3 separate regions of the Homo sapiens genome follow, and all the other regions are linked to region 1. The links are contacts of gene promoters, found by promoter capture Hi-C in blood cells and fetal thymus (Javierre and others, 2016). All regions are on one chromosome and are shown on one strand. Each heading gives the region's core, a stretch centred on a gene start or on the middle of the fragment in contact. The rest is flanking DNA. Distances are from core to core; before and after follow the strand shown. Region 1 holds the start of SUN5 (Sad1 and UNC84 domain containing 5). Region 2 has its middle 4.0 kb from the start of BPIFA3. Region 3 overlaps LOC105372593 (a long non-coding RNA gene).

The links. The method cuts DNA at HindIII sites, captures the fragments that hold promoters and counts their contacts. A CHiCAGO score of 5 or more calls a contact.
Region 2: a contact is called between a fragment that was not itself captured here and the fragment with the promoter of SUN5 in region 1, in 1 of 17 cell types (M1 macrophages). The highest score is 5.2, in M1 macrophages.
Region 3: a fragment that was not itself captured here is called in contact with the fragment with the promoter of SUN5 in region 1 in 1 of 17 cell types (endothelial precursors); the score reaches 6.8 in endothelial precursors.

What each region holds. Positions count from the first base shown.
Region 1 is chr20:33,002,361-33,006,083 of GRCh38, forward strand. SUN5 (Sad1 and UNC84 domain containing 5) reads right to left here and starts at 2,073. Exons shown (of 13, transcript NM_080675.4): 1 at 1,904-2,073; 2 at 501-559; 3 at 227-301. The coding sequence starts at 1,980. The HindIII fragment of the contact is 1,549 bases long and covers 804-2,352 here.
Region 2 is chr20:33,211,447-33,215,175 of GRCh38, forward strand. No RefSeq gene overlaps it. Among named protein-coding and RNA genes, the nearest start is that of BPIFA3, 4.0 kb to the right of the region's middle. The HindIII fragment of the contact is 1,073 bases long and covers 1,307-2,379 here.
Region 3 is chr20:33,245,901-33,249,344 of GRCh38, forward strand. The region is part of intron 1 of LOC105372593 (a long non-coding RNA gene); the gene reads right to left. Among named protein-coding and RNA genes, the nearest start is that of BPIFA1, 12 kb to the left of the region's middle. The HindIII fragment of the contact is 951 bases long and covers 791-1,741 here.

The DNA of each region.
Region 1 (3,723 bases), core at 823-3,322:
CTCCTCCAGACAGCAAGCCTCCCTCCCAGTTCCCCTCTCCAGCCACCAAAGACTTTGGCAGGAATGATACCTCCGATGGGTAGAACTCCAGAGTTCAACCTGCAGCTCCCCACCACCCCTGCAGTCCAGGGCAGGCATTGCCACCCCCAGGTCAGCCTGGGCCGAGGCTGGACCCTCTCCCCAGACCCATATTGATGACGAAGGTGATTATTCAGTATATACGTACACACACATCCCAGCATGCACTGAGTCAGGCCTAGGGCTTGGTCATTGTTGCGGACAGGCAACAGGATGTTGTCATCTGCAGAGAGCACAGGACTGTCATGTCACTGCCAGCCTCTTGATTTGGTGCTTGCAGAGACCTAGGGAGCACCCAGAGCTTGGTGCGAACATCCCTGCCCCTGCCCCTTGCTGGGTAGCCCCAGGTTGCCCGTTTGACATCCCTGAGCCTCAGCCCCTCAGCTGCCCATGAAAATACCAGGGCACCTGTCCTTGCTCACTCATGTTTGGGGAGGTGTCCTCTGCCATCCTGCTGGTGTTCCGGCCTCGCTGGGCAATCCTGGGGATGATAAGATTCATAGTCGCATTTTACAATTATGAGGAACATAGTGTCCTTGGAATGTGCATACCACGTTCCAGATTGGGAAACTGAGGTACAGAGAAGGTTTCCCAACACCACCAGCCTGTGATTCAGGGACAGACCCAGGTCTGGCTGACCCCAAATCCAGGTATCCATCAAGGAAAAGACCCAGGTTGCTGTGGCAGTCACAGGCGGTTGTCGCCATGTCCCCGAGGTTGGCAGAAGCTTGGTTTTGTTCCTTTGTCTGCTCCTACCCAATGTGATTTTAGGCCATTTTGATTGGTCGAAGCCTGCTGTCGTGCTCCCATTCCCTGTGCTGTGATTGGTTCAAGGGTGAGGAAGTCTGCAGGGGTGAGGTAGGGTGAGGTAGGGGGGTGGTTACGAGGTAAGGGACTTGGGGGAAAAGTTAGGTTTAGGATTAGCTAAATGAGACCCACAGAAAACGATGCTTATTCTCCTTCCCCTAGACGCCACATTTCTGCGTGACACCTGAAACTGTGGTGGCCATCTTGTGACCATGAGAGGGGGCTAAAAGAGCAGAATGATGACAGGAACCTGGGTCTTGGGTGGCAGAACTGAGGAATTAACACACTCCGGAGCCCCCTGCACCTTGGGACCTCTTGATATGTGAGATTTAAAATTTTCCCTTATTTCTTAAGTCAAAGGTCTTTAAACATTTTTGTTTATACCACCTCAGAGTATTTATATTGGTTTATTAATAAATTATATATACACCCAATTGTACTAATACATTGTTTACCCTTCCCAAATGTACAGATTTATGGTAACATTCCTGAATAATATAAATTAAAAGAGGATGAAAGACATACATTCTAGCCTGGTTATTTCTTTTCTCACCCTTGGGGATTGTTTGGTATACTCTCTTGGGATATACACCCAGATTTGGGTGCCCAGAGATAGGCATCATTTTAAGTTGGAATTTCTGTCACCTGCATTCAGAGGCTTTCTGACAGATAAAGATGGCGAAATACTTGTTTCCTTCTTTCATACCAGTCTCCTGCACTAGACCGTGAGCTCCATGAGGGAACGGAGCACATCAGACTGGTGCCACACCGTGTTCCCCGTCCTCTGTGCATTTCCCGGCACACAGTAGATGCTCAATAAATGCGTGCTGGAAGGATGGCTGCTTCACCACTTCCTGGCTGGGAGACTTTGGGAATACCACTGCCAAACCTCTCTGGTCTTGGTGGCTGTCTCTGTACAGTACAGTTGACAATGCCACTCATCTCCAAGGACAGGGTGGAGGGGCAGCATTTTGTAAACTGTAAAGGGCTGGGCAAAGGGAGGGGCTGCCATCCTCACCTCCGGGGTCTGGGATTGTGGGCCACATCTTCGAGTAGGGCGCCTGGGTCCCCAGGGCTCCTTGAGGACCGTGGCATCGATTTCCTTCTTTAGGATTGGGGATGGAGATGGGAACTCTGGGAGCTGGTGAGGAGGAAGGGGCTGATGCCTCTGAATGTCCCCTGAAAAGTGCCAAGTGGAATCTGCCAGGATCAGTGGAGCAGTTGGCATTGTGACCTCACAGAGCAGGTGGGTGGAGGGGCAGGGGATGGGGCTAGTCTCCAGCTTGGCCCTAGAACCTCCCCCAGAGGAAGCCATTGTGACCCACTTTCCTTTCTTAAGATGGGGAAATTGAGGCATCAAGACAGGAAGGGCCATGCTGGGGTCTCAGAAGCTGGACAGGGGCGAGAGCTGAAGCTCCAGTAACCCAACCATGCTTTTCCTTGTTTCCTAGATCCCTTCCTGCCCCAAGCTTCCCAGGCTTTTCACCTTCTTAGGTTGCACCTGAATGCATTTTGTAATGCTGAGCTTCTCACTGGTGGACATTGTGCATAACACAAAATAACATTGCATGTGTTGTTGCTTTAATAAAGTTCTACTTTTTGTTGGGCCCGGTGGTTGATGCCTGTAATCCTAGTACTTTGAGAGGCAGAAGCGGGTGGATTGCCTGAGCTCAGGAGTTTGAGACCTGTCTGGGCAACATGGCAAAACCCCTTCTCTACTAAAAATACAAAAAATTGGCTGGGTGTGGTGGTGTGTGCCTGTAATCCCAGCTACTCGGGAGGCCGAGGCTTGAGAATTGCTTGACTCGGGAGGCGGCAGAGGTTGCCGTGAGCAGAAATCGCGCCATTGCACCCAGCCTGGGCAACAGAGTGAGACTCTATGTCCAAAAATAAAGTTCTACTTTTTTACTGGGGAAAATAAAAGCATAACCGAGTGGAAATGTCGGGCTAAGTTTTTTCTGTTCACCCTGCCTGTAGGGAGCTTGACTATTTGGATAGCAAAGCTAAAATGAATTCACTTTTGCCCCCTGGTGGCAGTTGCTTAAAATTGCAGGCTAATTACCAATGGGAAGTGGTACGATGGTCCCTCAAAGAGGCCCACACACTAAAACCTGAACATGTAAATATGTTAAGTCACAAGGCAAAAGGGAGTTAAAACTAGAAGAGCAATTTAAGTTGCTAATCAGTCGATCTTGAGATGGGAAGAATACCCTAGATTACCCATGTGGGTGCAATGTAATGACAAGGGTCCTTAAAAATGGAAGAGGGAGGCAGGGAGATGGCAGCACAAGAAGCACTCAGCCCAACATGCTGGCTTTGAAGATGGAGGAAGGGACCAGGAGCCAAGGAATAAGGGCAGCTTCTAGAAGCTGGAAAAGGCAGGTGGACAATTCCTCTCCTACAGCCTCCAGCAAGGAACACAGCCCTGCCAATACTTCCTTGATTTTAGCCCAGGGAGACCCATCTGGGACTTCAGACCTCCAGAATGGTAACATGATAAATTGTGTCTTAAGTCACTAAGTTTGTGATAATACATTATTGCAGCAACAGGACACCAATGCAAAACCCCTGAGAATATTCAGTGAAGGGGAAACTCTGAAATGCCACCACTACAATTGTTACAAGGGTCTTTCAAATGTATACTCATTCATTTATTCATTCAACAAATATTTATGCACCTAGTATGGTCCAGGTGCTGGAAACAGGGCTGAGCAGAACCAGCTCCCATCCCTGCGGATGCAGGCAAAGTGGCTGGCAGAACATTCTGCATATAGCAGGTGCTCACCAAACGGTGCTTGCCATTGCTGTCAGGAGCCGGTTGAGATCTGGGATGGGCTG
Region 2 (3,729 bases), core at 593-3,092, 210 kb after region 1:
GCACATGGAGGGGCTTAGTGAAACCTGCCAACTCCCTGATAAAGGCTCCCTCCTGGGAGCTGCCACACACTGCACAATAGCATGGAGAATGTCACCCTCAGAGTCACACAATCCCTCTCCCAAAGACAGCTCCCCAATTCCCAGAGGATCCGGGTGAAGAAATTTAGTGCTGCAGCTATCTCCAGCAACCACGAGAATTTAGGATCAGGTAAAGCAAAATGAGCAAATATGGGGTGACATGTGTTGGAGAAAATTACTAAAAGGGGGATTGGGATCCAAAAGCAGAAAATGGAAGAAGAGAGAAAGCAAGTTTGGTCCCTTTGAGAAACGCAGCAGGAAGCAGAAGAGAAGCCAAGTTGGCTGAAGAATAAAATTAATGATCAAACAGGTTGAATGTGCATTTTTAAAAGAAGGACCCATGCCGGTTTCCTCTTCCTACTGGCTGACATTTAAGGGCAGGTGAGGCTGTGCCTGGCTGGTTATCCTTAATGACCTGCCTTGCTCCTTTCCTCCTGAGAACACTCCTGCTATGTAAGCCCCGGGACTTGACAGGTTGGTTCCTGCCCCCTTGTGGTCCAGAGTGTTCATGGTTATGGTGAGACCTGCAGTCTTCAGTCTATCTGGTGGTTCAACTCACTGAAAATGTTGGTATTTGCCATGTGTGTTCCACGGAATCTTATTGGCCTCTGTAGTATATAAGAGGAAATGCAGCCGGACAGAACAAGCTTGCAGACCCCTGCGAGGGAAGGTTAAGGGCTGTAAGTGAATTTATCCAGAAACAAGGTAGAGCCTATCAGAGCCAGGCAGCCCAAGTTCAAATCCTAGCTCCACATTATCAGCTGTGTGTCCTTAGACAAGTGTCTCCAGAGTCAGGGCTCAACATCCATCTGCCCTTATTATTCTTCCTGCCTCTCCTTGCAATGCTTGTGCCTGGGGGAATGGGGGCTGAGGATCATGTTGGGCAGCAGAATGGGGTGTGGGATGAAGCAGTTGGTGGGGAATGAGCAACAGCTCCTCTGAGCTCCCTTCTGCAGGCCAGGCTACCTGGTTCCCATCTGAGCCCCACCCCTCCCCAGCTGGGTGGATTTGGGGATTTTACTTAACATTTCTGTGCCTCTGCAAAAGGAGGCCAATAATAACAGTGCCTACTGCAAAGGGTTGTGTTGAGAATTCAATAAGTCATTACAGGTAAAGCACTTAGCTTGCCCCTGGAGCTCAGTCAGCACTCAATAACTGTTAGCTGGTATCACTGTTATTATTTCAGCTAAGTGATCTTCACACACCGTGTGCATCAGAATTGTCCAGAAGCTTATTCCCAGGATCCCCCTCAGAGAGCCTGACTCAATTCATCAGAGGTGACCTAAGAATCTGCATTTTTACAAGTCCCATCTCTCCCTCCAAAATTCGGTGATGCTCCCCTGGAAATTCCAGCATTTCCATTTTCCCTTTGCCCTCTCCAGGCTACCCTCAGAACCCAGAAAAGGTCAACTCTTCCTTTGTGAAACCCAATATGCCATTCAGAAACGGTCCCCACTCTCTCTTCCCCTGCCATTTTAAGGAAATTCGCCTTTGGATTAAGGTTCCAGCCCCTAGTTCTGTACAGTTGTTAGGCATATGTATGTTAAACACATATATATGTGTGTGTGTGTGTGTGTATATATATATACATATACATATATATGTGTGTGTATATATATATATCTTTTATATATATATAAAAGAATGGAATGAATGAATGACTAGATGAATAATGAATTCCATTCCTTAGAAGAGTAACTCTCAAAGTATGGACTGAACCCCCTGCATCATCTCTCTAGGGTGTTCATTCCAAAGGCAGCTCCCAGCACCTCCCCCCAGCCCCCACTAAATCAGATTCAGGAATCTGCATTTAATGCTTCTGCCTCCTCTGCTGTTCCCTGGAGTTTGGGGACCTCTGCCTTTTGCTAGGGACCTGGAATTTCCTTAGAGCCCCAAGGAGGGGAAGTGGCCACCCCAATTGGCCGTTAGAGATCACAGGTGTGCATAAGCCTGCTTGGCCCGGAGTTCTGCCAAGGGAGGTTCCTGCCTCCTTGTCCCACTGGACAGCTCTTCCTGCAGCCAGGGATGTGAGACAGGCCCTCTCCCTGGGCACATGGGTACAGACTTCTCACCCCATAGACAGCCACTACTGTCTTCCTTTCTTCCTCCAACCTGCCGAGCTCTTTCCCACCTGAGGGCCTTTGCCCTCATGGTTCCCTCTGCCTGGCTCCCCTTCCACATTTTTATACTCAAGCCTGGCTCCATCTCCTCCTCTCCTCCTGGGCTCTGCTCAAATGTCGCCTGAGACCTTCCCTAATCCTGGTCTAATGTGGCCTCCTTGCTATTTCCAATCTTACAGTAAGCTTTTTCCCCTTAATACAATTTATGGTTATTTGGTTTCTTGTTTATTTCACCTTGTTCTGATTCCCTCACCAGATGATAAGCTGCTGGGGAATAGGGTGACTGTTATTCCCTAGAGTCAAGCACAGTGCCTGGCACACAGTTGGCCCACAGTAAATAATGGTTGGGTGGATGGATAAATGAATTTTTTTCAAAGTCAAACTCCTTGAAAGCCAGTTTCCCAGGAGAGCAAGGGTTTTACCATTGAACCCATGGGCATGCCTTAAGAGGTCCATGGCAATCCTGGTACTGTGTGCAACATTGTTTGGCTTGGTGAGTTTTTTTTTTCCTAAAAGACAAACCAAAGCTTCCAGTGCATTTTCAAAATGTCCCCCAAGAAGGTAAAGAAGCTTGTTTTAAGGAAAGCTATTTGGAATAGTGAAGGAGGCTGCTAATGTGTGAGGCTCAGTGGTGTTCCACAGCGCCAGTGTCCAAGGAAAACAGTGTCTGAGGCAGTTCTGGGGAAGGCAAGACAGCCCACTGGGATGCCAGCTCAGCCTCTTCCTGGCTGGGAGCTTAGGCAGCCGCTGGGTTTCTCTGGGTCCCTGTCTCCTCACCTTTGTGGGATGAGGACGGAATGAGATAGACCACAGAGCAGGCTTCACACAGGGAACGGGTCCCAACGGAGAAACGCCAGCCCCGCCAGCCTCCAAGTATTTGCTCATTAAGGAGCTGTCCTCAATCCACCACCATCCTTCCTGAGAGCACCAGCGTGGCGTGCCCAGCCACCCTGGGTTTTTTCCTTGAATGTCAGCTAAAGAAACTCCACCTCCTCAGGGAGGTCTTTTTCCTGACATCCCTTTTCCCCCATTGGCCAGGTATCCCCTCCCTGTGCCCTCTCACAGTACCTCCCACCTCCTTCACCTCTGGGCCATATTTCATAATCATATGCTCAGTTGCAGGGATAATTGAAGACTGTGTGTCTCCCCACTGGTATGTGAGCTCCATGAGGACAAGGACCCTGCCTGACCACTCTCTGTGGGATCCCCAGAGCCCACGGCTCCTGACACTCAGTGTTCATTGATTTTAGTGGTTTTATTCATTGAATGAATGACAGCAAAGCCCACCATCTGAACAGCCACGCGCAAGCTCACTCCAGGACCATCACACCCTCACTGCCATCTCAGCCTCTCTATCATTCCTGCCTGCCTTCTGGAGTTGCATTTCATTCGTGAAAGTACTTGATAGAGGTGGCTCCTGCATTCATTGCACACGTGTCCCAGGAACCATCTTGGGATTCTCATGCTCCATGTCACTGACTCCATCAGCTTCCCTGGTTTACAGGTGAGGAAGGCTCAGAGGCGTAAGGAC
Region 3 (3,444 bases), core at 16-2,515, 240 kb after region 1:
ACTGTTGCCTCCAATCAACATGGCATCATAGAAGGACAGTTGCATAGCTCAGACTTCGAGATTTGTTGTGTGACACCATCATGTGTCTTCAGGGAGAATTTAAGAAAGAAAGCATATTCCACACCCACAAAAGTTCTCTGAGCTCAGATGAGTAATTAACTCCCAGCAAGCAGCTGAATGAGCCTTGGAAATGTCCACCTAGGCACTGACCGGAAATGCAGAAGGACCTTCCAGATAGGAAGCCAGCAACTGGGGCCTGCTCGTGCTAGAGAGGCTCCAAGAATAAGCTACCTTCAGGTCCTCTCAGGGCAGGCACTGGATCAGCACTGAGAGTTCCCTGTGTCTGAGGCCCCAAGAACTGAGATGGATGGAGCCCAGGGACACACATCTAGAACCATCAGTGCTGGGCCTGCTGCCCTCTGGCCATTGTACTGAACCGTGTTCCTGCCTCACACCCATCCCCTGGCCATCTCTGGATATGATTTTCCCCCTGCTCCCCTGGACTTCTTCCTATAGCCCACAGAAGGGTCCTCCCCTCTCTGACAAGTTCAATTTCTAATTAGCTAATCTAGAATTCCCCTGGATACAAGACATCCTGCCAGGTGGCCAGGCTAGTCAAAAACATTTATGCTATTTAAAGAGTGGAAACACATTTTTAAAACTCTCTGGGATTATGTCAGTGAAAGTGGCAAAGGAAAGGTCTCTGAAAATTTTTTCCTACGTAAAAGCAATGAGAAAACTGACAGAAATGGTCTTAACTAACATTTTCAGAGCTCTGGAAATTAACCAAAGCTTGTAGCAATCTGGGGAGAGTTTATTCAATACAAATTATGGAGTCTCAGCAAGAACAGAGAGCTTTGTGGCATTTTAACCTCTCCCATCTCCCCATACTCCCGCTCCACAGCCAACTCGAAAACGAAAAGCCCACAATCTTTGTGAGAACCAGCAGCCCAGTAGACACTGGAGAGGTGAGGAGGGAGTTAGAGCAACTCATTCGCAGAGAATTGTCATTGTTTGACCGGCCCATTGGTTTCCCAGGAAGACCCATTCTCATGATTGTCATTACTTGACCTGACGCAGAGCTCCCCTGGTCTGAACAACCTTTTCCCCAAATACATTTGTCAAAAAATAACCAGAGGCAACTATTTAACACCACAGCTGCCTGAGGGGATGTAATATTTGGGGCAAACAAAAAACTAACCAAAAAGCTGACAAGGAAAAGCTGGGGAATAAGATATCTATATGAGCTTTGAAAATCTCCAACATACTCCTAGGGCTCTAGGAGGGCATGTGCTTACAGGGAGCTGTGTTTATGTAAGGAGTAAAGATTAAGGCAGAATTGTGTTAAATAAAAATTAGAAAAGGCCACTGTTTTGAACTGAGCTCCTGCACTAGGCCCAACAGACCAGACCAAACCAGAATGGAGCCACTCAGGCATGGGATCATGTAATCAAACTAAACTTTAGTAACAGGCCAGTTTTCCAACCAACCAGAGGGGGCCAAGTCTACCTGAGCCAGAGGGTAAGAAAGTTCCCTCTTCCTTAACCCTATAAGGAAAGTAACTTTGAGATGATCAATCTATTTTTTGTCCCCTGTTTCTTCTTCTTTTATACCTATAAAACCCACCTCTGCTCAGCCCACAGGAGCTCACAGGAGCCTTTCTAAATCTTTAGATGGGATGCTGCCCAACTTGCTAATCTCTAAGAAAAGCCCATTAGAACATATCCCTATGTTTAAGGTAAGCTTTGTGAACAGGGTATTCAGTACCTGTGGATCTCAACCCGCACTGAGGGTCACTCTCCTACTGGGGCCCCCATCAGATTGGCAATATGTCACATGTGGACTATTCATGCCTGGAGGGAAAGCTCCAAATACACGGGTGACAGGTCCACAATGTTTCAAATCCCCACCTACGGCTGCCACTGCTAATCTTCACCAGTGTGTTGTCAATCTAGGCACTACTAGGTACTCTAATGAAACAAAAAGGGGAAAGATTTGTTTCCCCATCCTCTACCCTCTTCTCATACTTTGTGGCTGGAGGTGTGTCTGTCTATTAATCGGGGTGCTGGCTGGCTGTCCAGGTATTACAACCCAGGCTGTGTGTCCCCATCCTGAGACTACCTCTGTGGACACCCATTGCCCTTCCTGCTTGACCCAGAACTTTCAGCCTCAATTGTCCAGTCCAGGAAGGGAGATCATGTACTGCACAAATTTAACAGGTCTGATAATGTTGCCCACCTGAGTAGAAGGATCAGATGTCCCTGGAGCCACTAATGGGACCCTAACATCCTGGAACTCTTTGGTCTCATCCACTACCCCTGTGGAGTCCCATAAAAGAGAGGTGCCCAGGGGAAGCATCACCACCAGATTAGAGTTAGGGGGCCCCATCTGGGGTATTATGACAGCCTGAACCACAAACTACCCCAGAGACGTGCACTCCTTAGGGAAAAAGAAAAAAAGAATGGTTGAGAACACGGAGATTGGAATTTCACAGGCACAGCCTAATCAAGCACTGTCCAGTCCATGTCCACCTCAAGCCCCACCAAGTTCAGTGTTTCCCAGCATGTGCTGCAGTATTTACTGTGCATCCTGCCCTAATCAGGCAAGGGTACCAGCCCATTAGCAGACCACCTTAATGTCCTTTCTTCAGTTGCTACTTGAGTTAACCGCTCCATCATTCATTGGCTCCATTGGCCCGCAGGTGATATGAGTGCAAACTCACATTCCATGAGTTTGAGCTCATTGTTGTGTTGCTTGGGCAGTAAAATATATTCTTTGGTCAGAGTAAAGTCCCACAGGTATCCAAAAACATGACATAGTTCTTTTTAAGAGCATCTATGGTAGTTTCAGAGTTCACATGGTGGTCTAGAATGGTAATACCACAGCCTGAGTAGGTGTCAATGGCAATGAGGACATGAGTGCCCATGGCAGGAGGCCAGAGGCCTGTTGTGGTCAATCTGCCACACCAGGGCAGTTTCTAGCCCTCAGTTAATGTATCCCAATTCCTCTCTTTGAACAATTTGTGCCCCTTAGCAAGAATCACAAGGTTGTACTGTGTCCCTAGTCTCGGCATCTTCCAGGATGCTCGTTCTTGCATCTGAGGCGGATGTCTTAGTCCATTTTGTGTTGCTATAAGGAAATACCTGAGGCTGGGTACTTTCTAAAGAAAAGAGGTTTATCTGGCTCACAGTTCTGCAGGCTGTACAAGAAGCACGCTGCCAGCATCTGCTCAGCTTCTGGAGAGGTCTTTTGTGTGGTGACACAACTTGGCAGAGAAGGCCATAGAGGAAGCAGGCACATGCTGAGAAGGGCCAAACTCAAGGGGTGTCCTGACTTTATAACAACCCTCTCCCGTGGGTGCTAATACATCCTCCCAGAACCAATCCAGTCTTGTGAGAGCAAGAACTCCATCACTACCAGGAGAATGACACTAAGTCATCAGTG